2 separate regions of the Homo sapiens genome follow, and region 1 is linked to region 2. The links are contacts of gene promoters, found by promoter capture Hi-C in blood cells and fetal thymus (Javierre and others, 2016). All regions are on one chromosome and are shown on one strand. The core of a region is centred on a gene start or on the middle of the fragment in contact, and the rest is flanking DNA. Distances in the headings are between cores, read along the strand shown. Region 1 overlaps ZNF136 (zinc finger protein 136). Region 2 holds the start of ZNF700 (zinc finger protein 700).

Region 1 (6,981 bases), core at 431-2,930, 260 kb after region 2:
GGGCTTATCCCAGGATGGTTTCCAGCTTTGCCCAGGGAAGAATTCAAGGGCAGGCCAGTGGTGTTAGATAACAGTGTTTTATTTAACAGTACTGGTCTTTGTGGATCAGTGCTAACTCATAGGCAGTACACCCAGAGTCAGCAACATATGGTCTCTTGGCAACTATATTTATACCCACTTTCAATTATATGCAAATTAAGTGGTGGGTTATTTAAAACTTTCTAAGGAAGGAATGATAACTTTCAGGTCATTGCCATGGCATTTGTAAGCTGTCATAGCATTGGTGGGAGTGTTTTATGCTAATGAGCAGTGAGAGCATCTAGAGATCGCTGTTCTTGTCGTCTGCTGGTTTTGGCCCCTTTCTTTACTTTATCCTACCTGTGCCAGATCTTGTTTTGGCCAGTAGGGTTGTGATCAGAATACAAGTCCTGTTGGTCTCCTACCTCAGATGAATGTTGTGAGGAGTGAGGAGCCTTTTTTTAAGGGTAAGCAGTCTCAGGACTGCTAATATAAACTCTTTTGCATAGTAGGTGGTAGGACTTCGTTATGACAGGTTCTACAGGTCCACTGTATGAGCAGACATTAGCTGGGACTCAGGCAGCACGTATTACTCCTTGCAACCACCACCAAGAAAGATGATCAGACACTGCTATTGTTCTACCCGATAGTTCCATTCTAGTATGAGAGTTGCTGTGTGGAAGGAAGTGAGTATGATGACCAAACAGTGGAGTAAATGTTTGCAGACCCCTGAAACATGTGAACTTCTTATGAATTGAGTACAGCTCCCCAGCCCTGTCTGTCTCACCCATTCTCCTCTCCACATATGTGGGATGTTTCAGGACTCGGTGGCTTTTGAGGATGTAGATGTGAACTTCACCCAGGAGGAGTGGGCTTTGCTAGATCCTTCCCAGAAGAATCTCTACAGAGATGTGATGTGGGAAACCATGAGGAATCTGGCCTCTATAGGTAAGGATTGTATACTTCCATCACTTAGCAATTAAAGAAGAAGTGCTTCTTGTGCAGTGATGCTGTTCCATGGTTTGCATCATGGAGGGAGAGTACTTGGGGGGCTAAAACAGGCATAGTCACAGGGTATCATGAACCTAGAATCTAATAATTTTTCTATAATTTTGCACTAATTCAGAATTTTTCTGGGTCTCTGTTTTAGGGAAAAAATGGAAGGACCAGAACATTAAAGATCACTACAAACACCGAGGGAGAAATCTAAGGTAATTTGTACTCAGAGAAAGCAAATTCACTTGAAAGTACCTTAGCATGTCATGAAATTTTAAAAACAGGCAAACATAACTGATAAGCCAAGCTTCAAATTGATTTATTTTTTGAATATTTTCCCCAAATACATATTCTTCAGTGTAAACAGATGTTCAGTTTTTATAAAAATGTTCATTTGTCAACAGAATTAAGAAACTATTTAAGAATATCACTGTTTGAGTGATAGTTGCGGTCAAGCCCATTGCAGAGCATTGAATTCATTCATGCTCAAACAAATCAGACTTGGCATCGAGTCTACGCTTTACCTGATAATATTGAAAATGCAAGTTTAATAGCTATTAATATAAAATGATTAACAAATCCTTAGTAATGTCCGTCTCATTTTTTACAGAAGTCATATGTTAGAAAGACTCTATCAAACTAAGGATGGTAGTCAGCGTGGAGGAATTTTTAGCCAGTTTGCAAATCAGAATCTGAGCAAGAAAATCCCTGGAGTGAAACTCTGTGAAAGCATTGTATATGGAGAAGTCAGCATGGGTCAGTCATCCCTTAATAGACACATCAAAGATCACAGTGGACATGAACCAAAGGAATATCAGGAATATGGAGAGAAGCCAGATACACGTAACCAGTGTTGGAAACCCTTCAGTTCTCACCACTCCTTTCGAACACATGAGATAATTCACACTGGAGAGAAACTCTATGATTGTAAGGAATGTGGAAAAACCTTCTTTTCTCTCAAAAGAATTAGAAGACACATCATCACACACAGTGGATATACACCATATAAATGTAAGGTGTGTGGGAAAGCTTTTGATTATCCCAGTAGATTTCGAACACATGAAAGAAGTCACACTGGAGAGAAACCCTATGAATGTCAGGAATGTGGAAAAGCCTTCACTTGTATCACAAGTGTTCGAAGACACATGATAAAGCACACTGGAGATGGACCTTATAAATGTAAGGTATGTGGGAAACCCTTTCATTCTCTGAGTTCATTTCAAGTGCATGAAAGAATTCACACTGGAGAAAAACCCTTTAAATGTAAGCAATGTGGTAAAGCCTTCAGTTGTTCCCCAACCTTACGAATACATGAAAGAACCCATACTGGAGAGAAACCTTATGAATGCAAGCAGTGTGGGAAGGCCTTCAGTTATCTCCCCTCCCTTCGACTACATGAAAGAATTCACACTGGTGAGAAACCCTTCGTATGTAAACAATGTGGTAAAGCCTTTAGATCTGCCAGTACCTTTCAAATACATGAAAGGACTCACACTGGAGAAAAACCTTATGAATGTAAGGAATGTGGGGAAGCATTCAGTTGTATCCCAAGTATGCGAAGACACATGATAAAACATACTGGAGAAGGACCTTATAAATGTAAGGTATGTGGGAAACCCTTTCATTCTCTGAGTCCATTTCGAATACATGAAAGAACTCACACTGGAGAGAAACCTTATGTATGTAAACATTGTGGTAAAGCTTTCGTTTCTTCAACATCAATTCGAATACATGAAAGAACTCATACTGGAGAGAAACCCTATGAGTGTAAGCAATGTGGGAAAGCCTTCAGTTATCTCAACTCCTTTCGAACACATGAAATGATTCACACTGGTGAGAAACCCTTTGAATGTAAGCGATGTGGTAAAGCCTTTAGATCTTCTAGTTCCTTTCGACTACATGAAAGGACTCACACTGGACAGAAACCCTATCATTGCAAGGAATGTGGGAAAGCCTATTCTTGCCGTGCCAGCTTTCAGAGACACATGTTAACACATGCTGAAGATGGACCACCTTATAAATGCATGTGGGAAAGCCTTTAATGCTCTGGGTTCATGTCAGATACATTAAAATACTCACTGAAGAGAAGCCCTATGAATGTAAGTAACGTGGGAAAGCATGAAATTCTGTCAGTGCCTTTTTTAATACATGAAAGAATTCTAGAGAGAAGCCATATACATGTAAGTAACATGGGAAAGCTTTCAATCATTTTAGTTCCTTTCAAATACATGAAAGAACTCATCATGGAGAAAACCAAACAAATGCTTTTTGGAAAGGAACCCATATTTGAGAGAAACCCTGGGTAAAGGGTGTAGGAAAGGTTTTGTCATCACACAACCCTGTCACACATGAATGTGTAGTGGAGAGAACCTTGGTAAATGTAAAGAGTGTGGGAGAGCCTTTAGTCATTTTAGTTCCACTTGAAGCCATGAAAGAACACACAAAAGAGAAAGCTCTTGAATATAAGCAATGTCCACACGTTTTTAGCCAGCCCACATGCTTTCAACAACATGTAAGAATGTACCCTGGATCAAAACACTATAAATGTGAAAACTACAAGGAAGGTTTTCCATTATACTTTTAAAGTCATTTGAGGGCTCTGGCTCTGTGGCTTTGTGGGTTAAAGTACTTGTCTGGCAAACAGGAGATGCTGGATTTCAATCCCAGCAGGGCCTCACTAGTTGAGGTATTGAATTTGAACAGATGTTTTGGCTCTGGCTGGGTGTGGTGGCTCACACCTGTAATCCCAGCACTTTGGGAGGCTGAGGCAGGAGGATCACTTGAGGTCAGGAGTTTGAGACCAGTGTGCAAAACATAGCAAGACCTCATCTCAGAAAAAAAAAAAAAGTCATTTGAAAACTTCTAATACAGCAAAATCCTATAAATGTAAGTACTTCAAAAAGCCTCATGCATAGCGGGTCATGTAGTCTCTAGAAAATACATAACCTGATGGAAATGTAGAAGCTATATGTATATTTTGTTAATTAGTGGCTCATATTTAAAATAGTTCTCTGACTATGGATTTCAAATGCTTAATCTCACAAAGAAATGTTAAATTGATATAATCCTGTAAGTAATCTGAAAGCAATAGTGCATGAATTTCATAGGTAGTGTTGTTTTAGGTCAGTAAATAAAATATTTGTCTTTCCATTTTGAAATGTGTTTAATCCAACAATGAATTTAAATGTGTTTCTCATATTCAGGTATGTTAAATTGTATATGGTTGCTTAATTGTTCTGTGATTGAGGACCACTGAAAAATAAGTCTTAATAAATGTTGGTATGAACCTACTTGCTTCATTTAGCAGGTTCTTGATTCCCTTTCCACATTATATACATTCCATCATATTTATTGGAACAGCTCCTTTTTTTTCCTTTTTTCTTTTTTCTTTCTTCTTTTTTCTTTTTGAGACAGGGTCTCGCTCTGTGCTCTGTTGCCCAAGCTGGAGTACAGTGGCATGATCTCGGCTCATTGCAACCTCTGCCTTCTGGGTTCAAGTGATTCTCCCACCTTAGCCTCCTAGGAAGCTGGGACTACAGGCATGTGCCACCACACCTGGCTAATTTTTTGTATTTCTAGTAGAGATGGGGTTTCACCATGTTGGCCAGGCTGGTAGAACTCCTGACCTCAAGTGATCCACCCACCTCAGCCTCCTAAAGTCTGGGATTACACGTGTGAGCCATCACACCTAGCCCATTTTTTTTTTCTTGGCTCAAATAATTTTATTTTGCTTCCTATTAAAGAGTTGTTGTTAATTCTAAGTATGTAAAGTTTATCACAGACTGTAGTCTCGTGAATTATTATTTTAACCTGTTGTTCTTTACTCCTTGTTATTTATTCTGGCTGCTCTTTGTATAATTGATTTTGGGATAAGGAGACAGCTATGATAGAATAATAAAATCTAAAATGGGAGATGCCTTTCATGGATTGTGTCATGTCAATCTGGGTAATGGGAACTAAACTTTTCAGACTTCATTTCTTTCTTTCTTTCTGAAATAGGGTCTCACTCTGTCACTCAGGCTGGAGTGCAGTGGCACGACTGTGGCTCACTGTAACCTCAAACTCTGGAGCTCAGGTGGCCTTCCGACCTCAGCCTCCCAAATGGCTGGAACTATAGGTATGTGCCACCAAGCCCAGCTAATCTTTTTATTTTTGGTTTTTCATCTTTTTTTTTTTTTGTAGAGATGGTGTCTTGCTATGTTGCCCAGACTGGTCTCAAACTCCTGGCCTCAAGTCACCCTCTAGCCTCAGCCTCTTAAAGCACTAGGATTACAGGCATAAGCCACTGTGCCTGGCCCAGAATTTCTTTCTTTCATGGTTACCTGTAGACTGCATCAATAGCCTAAATTCCTGGAAGTTTAGAATGCAGAAGTGAAGAACGCATTAGTCAGATTTTGGAGGCATCATACGGAGAGACAGATGCATATGGGCTGTTTGGACATGGTCATCTAGCCCATTTTCCTGATTCTTTGCCCTGCCAATCAAGAGTATCCTCAGCCGGGTGTGCTGGCTCACACCTGTAATTCTAGCACTTTGGGAGGCCAAGGCGGTCGGATCACCTGAGGTGAGGAGTTCGAGACCAGCGTGGTCAACATGGTGAAACCCCATCTCTACTAAAAATACAAAAATTAGCTGGGTGTGGTGTCGCGTGCTTATAGTCCCAGCTGAGGCAGGAGAATCGCTTGAGCCAGGGAGGTGAAGGTTGCAGTGAGCCAAGATCATGCCACTGCACTCCAGCCTGGGTGACAGAGTACAGAGTAAGACCCTGTCTCAAAAAAAAAAAAAAAAAAAAAAAAAAGAGTATCCTCTAATCCACCACTAGCTACTTCACCTCCATGTTCTCAAAGTTATGGATTTCCATAGATGTTTTTAAAAGCTTCATATCAAAGATTCAGCTGCCATTTGGATATTCCTGAAGGCCCTAATATATCTGCCAAGTAATCAGTTCATATTGTCATTGTTGGGAATAGTCTGATGATCTGACTTGGTTCCTGTACGGTCCAGTTTGTACATAAACATTTTTGTCCATAGGGACAGTGAGTGTTACTGATGCAGGTTGAGAGCTACAATGGCACTATCCAAAAACAAAACGAAAAACCCTACATGGAGCTTGTTCCTCTGCTGCATTATGCAGAGATGGGTCTCACCCCGTTCTTTCATGTGAGAATAAGCACCTTATTCATTATAGAAACATTGTGGGTGTTTCCTGTTACTCATAGCTGAATGCAGTCCCTCAGTTTATTTTGAATTATGTTTGAGTACATATGATTACAAACAATATACATGTCCTCCTCAAACAAAAGTTCTCTACACATTTCTTAGAAATATTAACAGTATGCAAGCAACTTGCATACTGTCTGGTGAGTTTTGTATTTATTGAGAATATATATTAAAATATCCCATTCCAATCATGGATCCGATAAACTTTATAATTAAGCTATTTGTCCAACATTGTGAGTCAATATTACTGTGAGCTTACAACTTCAGGCCTTTTTTTCCTCATAAATTTTAGTTTTCATGCTTATTTGATTACAACTTTTATGATGATAGTAGTTTTTCATATGCATAATACCAAAAGTCAAATCATGTTGTGAGTGATTTCTTTCCAAGGACTATCAGGGACGTCCCTGTTGTCAAGCAGGGTGTAATAAATTGTGGTAATAAATACTACCACAGGCCGGGCGCGGTGGCTCACCCTGTAATCCCAGCATTTTGGGAGGCCAATGCGGGCAGATCACTTGAGGCCAGGAATTGGAGACCAGCCTGGACAACATAGCAACACCCTGTCTCTACTAAAAATACAAAAATTAGCCTGGTGTGGTGGTGCACATCTGTAATCCCAGCTACTTGGGAGTGGAGGTTGCAGTGAGCCAAGCACGCCACTGCACTCCAGCCTGGGCAACAGAGTGAGACTCTCTCAAAAAATAAAAAAATAATAAATACCACCACAAACCAGTAATGACTGTA
Region 2 (6,714 bases), core at 3,166-5,665:
AGCCTGGACAACGTGGTGAAACCGCATCTCTACCAAAAATACAAAAAATTAGCCGGGCATGGTAGTCCCATTCTCACAGTCACAGAAAGGTTCTTTCTTAAGGATTCCACCTGCTGGAAAGCATTATATACTACCAGAACTTGTTCAATTCAAGAGTGTCTGGTCTCATCTCCATGTCATAATTACAACCAAAATCCTAAAGGGACTGATTTACCACACTGTGGGTGCCATAAGGCCCAATTTTTACCCTCAGCAGCAGCTGTAACATCCCAAGTTACAGCTCTACCCTCCAAAGATGTGCCTGAGGCTTGTGCCTGCCATACTAACATGTTAATATGTCCAAAGCTTCCTGCAGAGCTGTGTCCCAGTCCCAAAGTGCCCCTTTCTAATAAGTCTATATATTGGTCTCAAACATTGGACTCAGTGTCAGATAAATGCTCTCCAATAATCCAAAGACTAACAAATGTCTGGATTTCTTTTCTCCTTTTTTTTTTCTTTAAGAAACATAGTATGGCTCTGTTTCCCAGGCTAGAGTGCAGTGGTGGGATCATAGCTCACTGCAGAAACTCCTAGGCCCAAGGGATTCTCCTGCCTCAGCCTCCCAAGTAGCTGGGAATAAAGGCACATGCCACTATGCCCGGCTGTTTTTAAATTTTTTGTGCAGATGGAGTCTCACTATATTGCCCAGGCTGTTCTTGAACTCCAAGGCTCAAGTGATCCCCCTACCTCAGCCTCCCAAAGTGCTGAGATTACAGTCATGAACCAATGCTCCCAGCCCTGAAATGGAAAATTTCTTTTGTTTGTTTGTTTGTTTGTTTGTTTGTTTTTTGAGACAGAGTCTCACTCTGTCATCCAGGCTGGAGTGCAGTGGCATAATCTCGGCTCACTGCAACCTTCCAACTCCCGGGTTCAAGCGATTCTCTGCCTCAGCCTCCTGAGTAGCTGGGATTACAGGCACCTGCCACTACGCCCAGCTAATTTTTGTATTTTTAGTAGAGACAGGGTTTCACCATCTTGGCCAGGCTAGTCTTGAACTCCTGACCTCAGGTGATCCACCTGCCTCGACCTCCCAAAGTGCTGGGATTACAGGCATGAGCCACTGCGCCCGGCCCTGAAATGGAAATATTTCAAAGGGAAAACATCTAACGTTCAAGTTATTATCTATAGAGCAGTTAACAGGAACTATCATTTAGGGTCCATCGTGAGGCAGAAATTTAAAAATAATAAGTACTGAATTTATTTACTCCAAGAAAAGTAAAAGCTAAGGCCCAGAGTGTGGCAAGGCAAGGGTTAAAAAGAAAAAAGAAAAGCACAAGTTTTCCTCTGCCTAGCAGCTCACTTCCAGGACCTTATCAAGAAGATAACGATGTCCAAATAGCCAAGGCCAAAGGAATGGGCTCCAGACACCCCTCCCTTCCAGAGCAATGTTGAAGGAAAAAAAAAAAAGAGACAGATTCTTTTACTGTTACTCTTTTGCAAGTCTTCTTAAGCATTATTATGTTTTACAAATGTCTGTATTTAGCCAGTTCTTGTTTTTCTTTCAATGCAGCTACAAGGACACTGGCTATGCAAGGTCATAAATTATGTTATGCTATAGATTACATGACCTGTCACTGTATGATTAACTGCTTTTGTTTGGCATCTGTAAGACAGCGTATAAAAACCCCACTTTGTCTTCGTTCAGTCCTCAGCTTTTTGGATATGAATCGTCTGAGCCAGTGCGTACCTAAAATATAAACAAATCCTCCTGTACTCCATATTGGTCTCTCCTTCCTCAGTTTACCACAACAATGGGATTCTAGGACACTAGGTATGAAGCAAATATGAGGAAGTTCAGGGAACAAGCTGACTTAATGATTAATGCTGAAGGTTCTGCAGCTTGGTTTAAGTTTTCTCCTCCCATCCTCCCTGATGAATTTGATAAAGTTTAAAGGGATGGTTTCACCAGGGGCCTTTTCCATTGACTGCAAGGAGGTCATCCGCCTGGTAAATCCTCAGTAGGCCAAGCCTCTTATGTGGCCAGAATGATCCAGTCCATAAGGAAATACCACCTGCTGTGTTTTACAATTAGACCATCCAAGGGGGTCAGGGTTTCCCCGGGGAGTCTGGTGGGCTTTTTATGGGTTTTTTTGTTTTTGATTTTTTTTTTTTTTGAGACAGTGTCTTGCTGAAGTTCAGTAACCTGATCACAGCTCACAGCAGCCTCAAACTTTGGGGCTCAAGTGATCCTCCTGCCTCAGCCTCCTGAGTAGCTGTGATTACAGGTACACACCACCTCTCCTGGCTAATTAAAAAATAGATTTATGGAGATGGGAGTGTCTCACTTCACTGCTCAGGGTGGTCTTCAACTTCGGGCTTCAAGTGATCCTGCCACTTTGGCCTCCCAAAATGTTGGGATTGCAGGCATGAGCCATGGCACCTGGCCTCCCAGGCTGTTGTTGAAAGGTCTTTGCAATCTCTAAGAGTTCTGCAGCAGTTTATTCCCTGACAGCGAGAGTCTCATCCTTTGATCCCATTTTGCAGCAGTAGTTGGGTGTTCACTTTTCTTTCCATAAGGAAGCAAGCTTGCCAGTGACCCTCATCCCCCTCCTCATCGATGACTTCTTTGTCATCAGAGCCTTCCTCTTCATAAATTCCCACGGAATCCAAGTTTTCACGTCCCGATTGGGCTTAGTTATGATAGCTACTGGCTCACACAAGCTGCAACAGCACCCCGTCCCATGGAAGCCACCCGACTCTCTCCTCCCTGAGTTTCCTGTCCTGGGAGCCCCCATCTCTGCTCTCCCGGGCTCCGGGCCCTAGAGCCGCACTGCTGCAGAGCCCAGTTCCCAGGGCAGCTCCCTCCACCTATCCACATCCATCTCCAGCTCTCCACCCTCTCTCCCACCAGCCTGGCCTGGAGGTGCTGCAGTGTCATTGACTGCGAGTCCCTCAGCTGCCACCTCCACCGCGATCTGGAAGTCTTTCAAATGCCCTTAAGTTATCTTAGATTTTTCCTCCCCCACTTTATACATAAGCATAGGAGGAGAGCAGGGACTCTGCTGGTGTCTTATTTACACAATGGGATTGAAGGTGTTTGTCTCGCGAAACTAATCGATGGGGTGAGAAGTAGCTGAATAACCTGCAGGGGGCAGCAGAGCCCAAGGCCAGTGATTCCACGTTGAGGACAGTCTCTGCAGCCTGCAAAGGGAGGGAAAGAGAGTTTCCCTGGGGGCTTCGCGGGCAGCCCACCCCCTTCTACAAGTGGCCTCCAGCTGCTCAGAGCAGCTCCAGAAAGGGTGTGGATTCCGAGAAGCTGCAGAGCCCTGGAAAGCAGAAGACCCATGTGCAGACGCATTTGTGGCGTCTCTGTCCTTTCTGGTGTTGTACCTCTGGAGCTGTCTTCTGGGCAGGGTTTGGGGTTTGACATGCATGGGGTCGTTGGGGTCAGAGTTATTTGTATAGATAAAGAAAATGTGTGGCCGGGCGCGGTGGCTCACGCCTGTAATCCCAGCACTTTGCGGGGCCGAGGCGGGCGGATCAAGAGGTCAGAAGATCGAGACCATCCTGGCTAACACGGTGAAACCCCGTCTCCACTGAAAATACAAAATATTAGCCGGGCGTGGTGGCGGGCGCCTTTAATCCCAGCTACTCCGGAGGCCGAGGTAAGAGAATGGCGTGAACTCGGGAGGCGGAGCTTGCAGTGAGTCGAGATCGCACCACTGCACTCCAGCCTGGGCTACAGAGCAAGACTCCGTCTCAAAAAAAAAAAAAAAAAAAGAAAGAAAGAAAAGAAAATGTGTGAAGATCAGGCTAGAGCTAGAGACAGAATTGTTTGGTGGCGTCACCTGGATAAAGGGTTCATGAAGTTGACAGTTTACTTAGGTCAGAAACAAAACCTGGTGAGAGTTTCCTGCTGGTGAAAATGAAGATCTGAAAGGAGGAAGCATTTTCACAAGGGGATGGGGGTGTGTGAGCAAGGCTTGGCCACGCCTCATCCCCAATTCCGGCCCGCTCGAGGACATATGCCTCTCCTCCTGGTGCAGTCGTGCCTGGCCTGGTCTCGGTTCCCCTGCTGCTCTGAGGCCAGCAGTTGGCTCCTATGGACACTGAGTCTGAAATTCCCTGCACACTCCTGTGACCCCGTGCAGAACGAAGGAGCGGGGACTGTCCCTTGAGTGAGGATGACGCTAGTGTTCTCTTCTATCAATAGCAAGTTTGGCTGAAATGCAAATATCCAATAACCAGAGTGCAGAAAGCAGCTCGCCCTTAGAGAAGCTGTGGCTAGAATCCGTCAGTCTGGCTCTGCGGGGCCTGATACCCAGGGCTTCAGCTGTCACTCAGATGTGGGGGGCGGGACCTAGTATTTCATCCAATCAGAGGTGCTGGGGCGTGGCACTGCCCACAGTTCATCCGGAAATGGAGGGGGTCGCTTTCCTCACCTTCCTCGCTGCGCGGGCGGCGGTTGGTAACCGGTCAGACCAGCCCGAGAGGGACCTGGTGCCTGTACCCAGGCTTCTGTCGCTCTGTCGCCTGCGCTATGCCCTGCTGTAGTCACAGGAGCTGTAGAGAGGACCCCGGTACATCTGAAAGCCGGGAAATGGTGCGTGTGCGGGACCAGATGTCGTGAGACGGGGGAGGGGCTGCCTGGAACAGGCGGGAACCGGCTGTGGCGGGACCCGGGCCTCCCTGTGGGCGACTCCGGGGTCTGGGACCGAGTCCTCCTTGAGCAGTTCGGCCCTCGGTCCCCTTGGCCGCTGGACGGGGCTGGGCCAGCAGCCAGGACCCGGGCGTCCTGTCCCGTCCCTGCGCGGCGACTGCGGCCGCGGCCCCTGCCCCGGAGCCCTCTCTGGGCAGTTCCGCTCCCGCAGCCCCGCGTCTCCCCAGATTGTGCGGAAGCAACGGGAGGGTCATGGAGGCATCCTGACTCGGGTGTGGGGTTCGTGCGTGGGAGGAGCAGTGGTCTGTGGGGCCCCCAGTCCCCACTTTCTCCTGTTAAAAATTAAACTGAGGTACGTTAACAATTAAAGAGTTCATTTGAGCAAACAGCGATTCACGAATGAGAAACACCCCGTCCTGGGTTGTGGTTTGTCAACGGAAAAAGCCAAACTATGTAAAATAAAGAAGTTTATTCAGAGCCGAATAGGAGAGACCTTGGCCGAGGGAAACACAACCCCAAGCAGCCTGGAGTAAGTGGTCCCGAGGCGGCTCAAGACAGTTTGGTTTTATTCATTTCAGAGAGACAGGAATTGCAGGGAAAATGATGAATCAGTGCCTGAAAGGTGTAAGTTCCATTGGCAGAAAGGGTGGGACCTGTGGAAGGGGGGTTAGAAGGCACAGGTGGTTGAGGGATTCTGTAGGTGGCAGCTGGTTGAGAGTGTGAAGTTTGTCTAAAGTTTGGAGGAGGTAGGAAGGAAGGGGGTCTGTTATCTGCCACTTGATTCCATCCCAGCCAGAAAACAGACCTGTTTCTCTAGATTTTATGAATTCTGAGGCGTGACTTTACTTTTGCCTTGCGTGGCCTTAGGTTTTGTTTGTAAGTTAGTATCTTCTTGCCACAAGCAGTCTGTTTTTCCATTCTATCTATTTTTACATGAATGTGTGGGAGAGGGTATAAGGAGACCTGTCTCACCTCCCATCCTGTCATACAGAGGCACTCAATTTTCAGGGTTTTTTGCGGGTCCTGTTGGCCAAGAGCCGGTCACTTCACTTAGCTGGAAAGGTACTTTGTTTTTATTTGAGACGGAGTCTCCTGTCGCCCAGACTGGAGTGCAATGGCCTGATCTCGGCTCACTGCAACCTCCACCTTCCGGGTTCAAGTGATTCTCCTGCCTCAGCCTCCTGAGTAGCTGGGATTGCAGGCATGCACCACTATGCCCTCCTAATTTTTGTATTTTTAGTAGAGATGGGGTTTCACCATGTTGGCCAGGCTGGTCTCGAACTCCTGACCTCAAGTGATCCACCCACCTCAGCCTCCCAAAGTGCTGGGATTACAGATGTGAGCCATCTCGCCGGGCCAGAGGTATGTTTTTATTTTTAGTTTACCAGTTTAGGGGTAAGCTTTTATAAGTTACGTGAGGAGACAAACCAGATAAATGCTTGATTGGTTGCAGAGATGCAGTTGCCTTATTTGGACTTGTCACTCCGAAATAATAGAAAGGTCAAGATTTCAGTTGGAAGAGTTTATTCAAGCGGAAGGATAGCAGTGGCCCATTTGGGAAAAACACAGACTCTAGGGAAATAGACTCAGTACTCCAAAACTGGAAGTTAAGTTCTTGCTTGTATTACCAGGAAAAGAGGTCCTGATCAGACCCCAGGAGAGTTCTTGAATCTCACACAGGAAGGAATTCAAGACGAGTCACAAAGTGCAGTGAGAAGAGAGTTTATTGAAAGCTACTCTGGGCCAGCATGATGGCTTAGGCCTGTAATCCAAGCACTTTGGGAGGCCAAGGTGGGAGGATAACTTGAGGTCAGGAGTTCGAGACCAGCCTGGGCAACATAGTGAAACCCCATCTCTTCCAAAACTAGCAAAAATTAGCCGGGTGTGGTGGCCTGCACCTGTAGTCCCAGGTGTTCAGGAGGCTGATGTGAGAGAATCACTTGAACCCCAGAGGCAGAGGTTGCAGCCCAGCCGAGGATGTACCACTGCACTCCAGTGTGGGTAACAGAGTGAGACCCCATCTCAAAAACCAAAACAAACAGGAAAGAGGTCAAGACCAACCTGGCCAACACAGC

What was found. Contacts are between HindIII fragments. The CHiCAGO score rates a contact against its expected background, and 5 or more counts as called.
Region 1: a fragment that was not itself captured here is called in contact with the fragment with the promoter of ZNF700 in region 2 in 1 of 17 cell types (naive CD4 T cells); the score reaches 5.2 in naive CD4 T cells.

What each region holds. Positions count from the first base shown.
Region 1 is chr19:12,184,946-12,191,926 of GRCh38, forward strand. ZNF136 (zinc finger protein 136) reads left to right here. Exons shown (of 4, transcript NM_003437.5): 2 at 840-966; 3 at 1,169-1,229; 4 at 1,625-4,926. The coding sequence ends at 3,056. Among named protein-coding and RNA genes, the nearest start is that of ZNF136, 25 kb to the left of the region's middle. The HindIII fragment of the contact is 722 bases long and covers 1,320-2,041 here.
Region 2 is chr19:11,920,692-11,927,405 of GRCh38, forward strand. It overlaps ZNF700 (zinc finger protein 700), which reads left to right and starts at 4,416. Exons shown (of 4, transcript NM_144566.3): 1 at 4,416-4,582. The coding sequence starts at 4,520. It also overlaps a transcript of ZNF69 not described here. RefSeq lists enhancers at 2,322-3,112, 3,113-3,902, 4,059-4,631, 4,079-4,128, 4,179-4,288 and a silencer at 4,679-4,878. The HindIII fragment of the contact is 3,475 bases long and covers 2,563-6,037 here.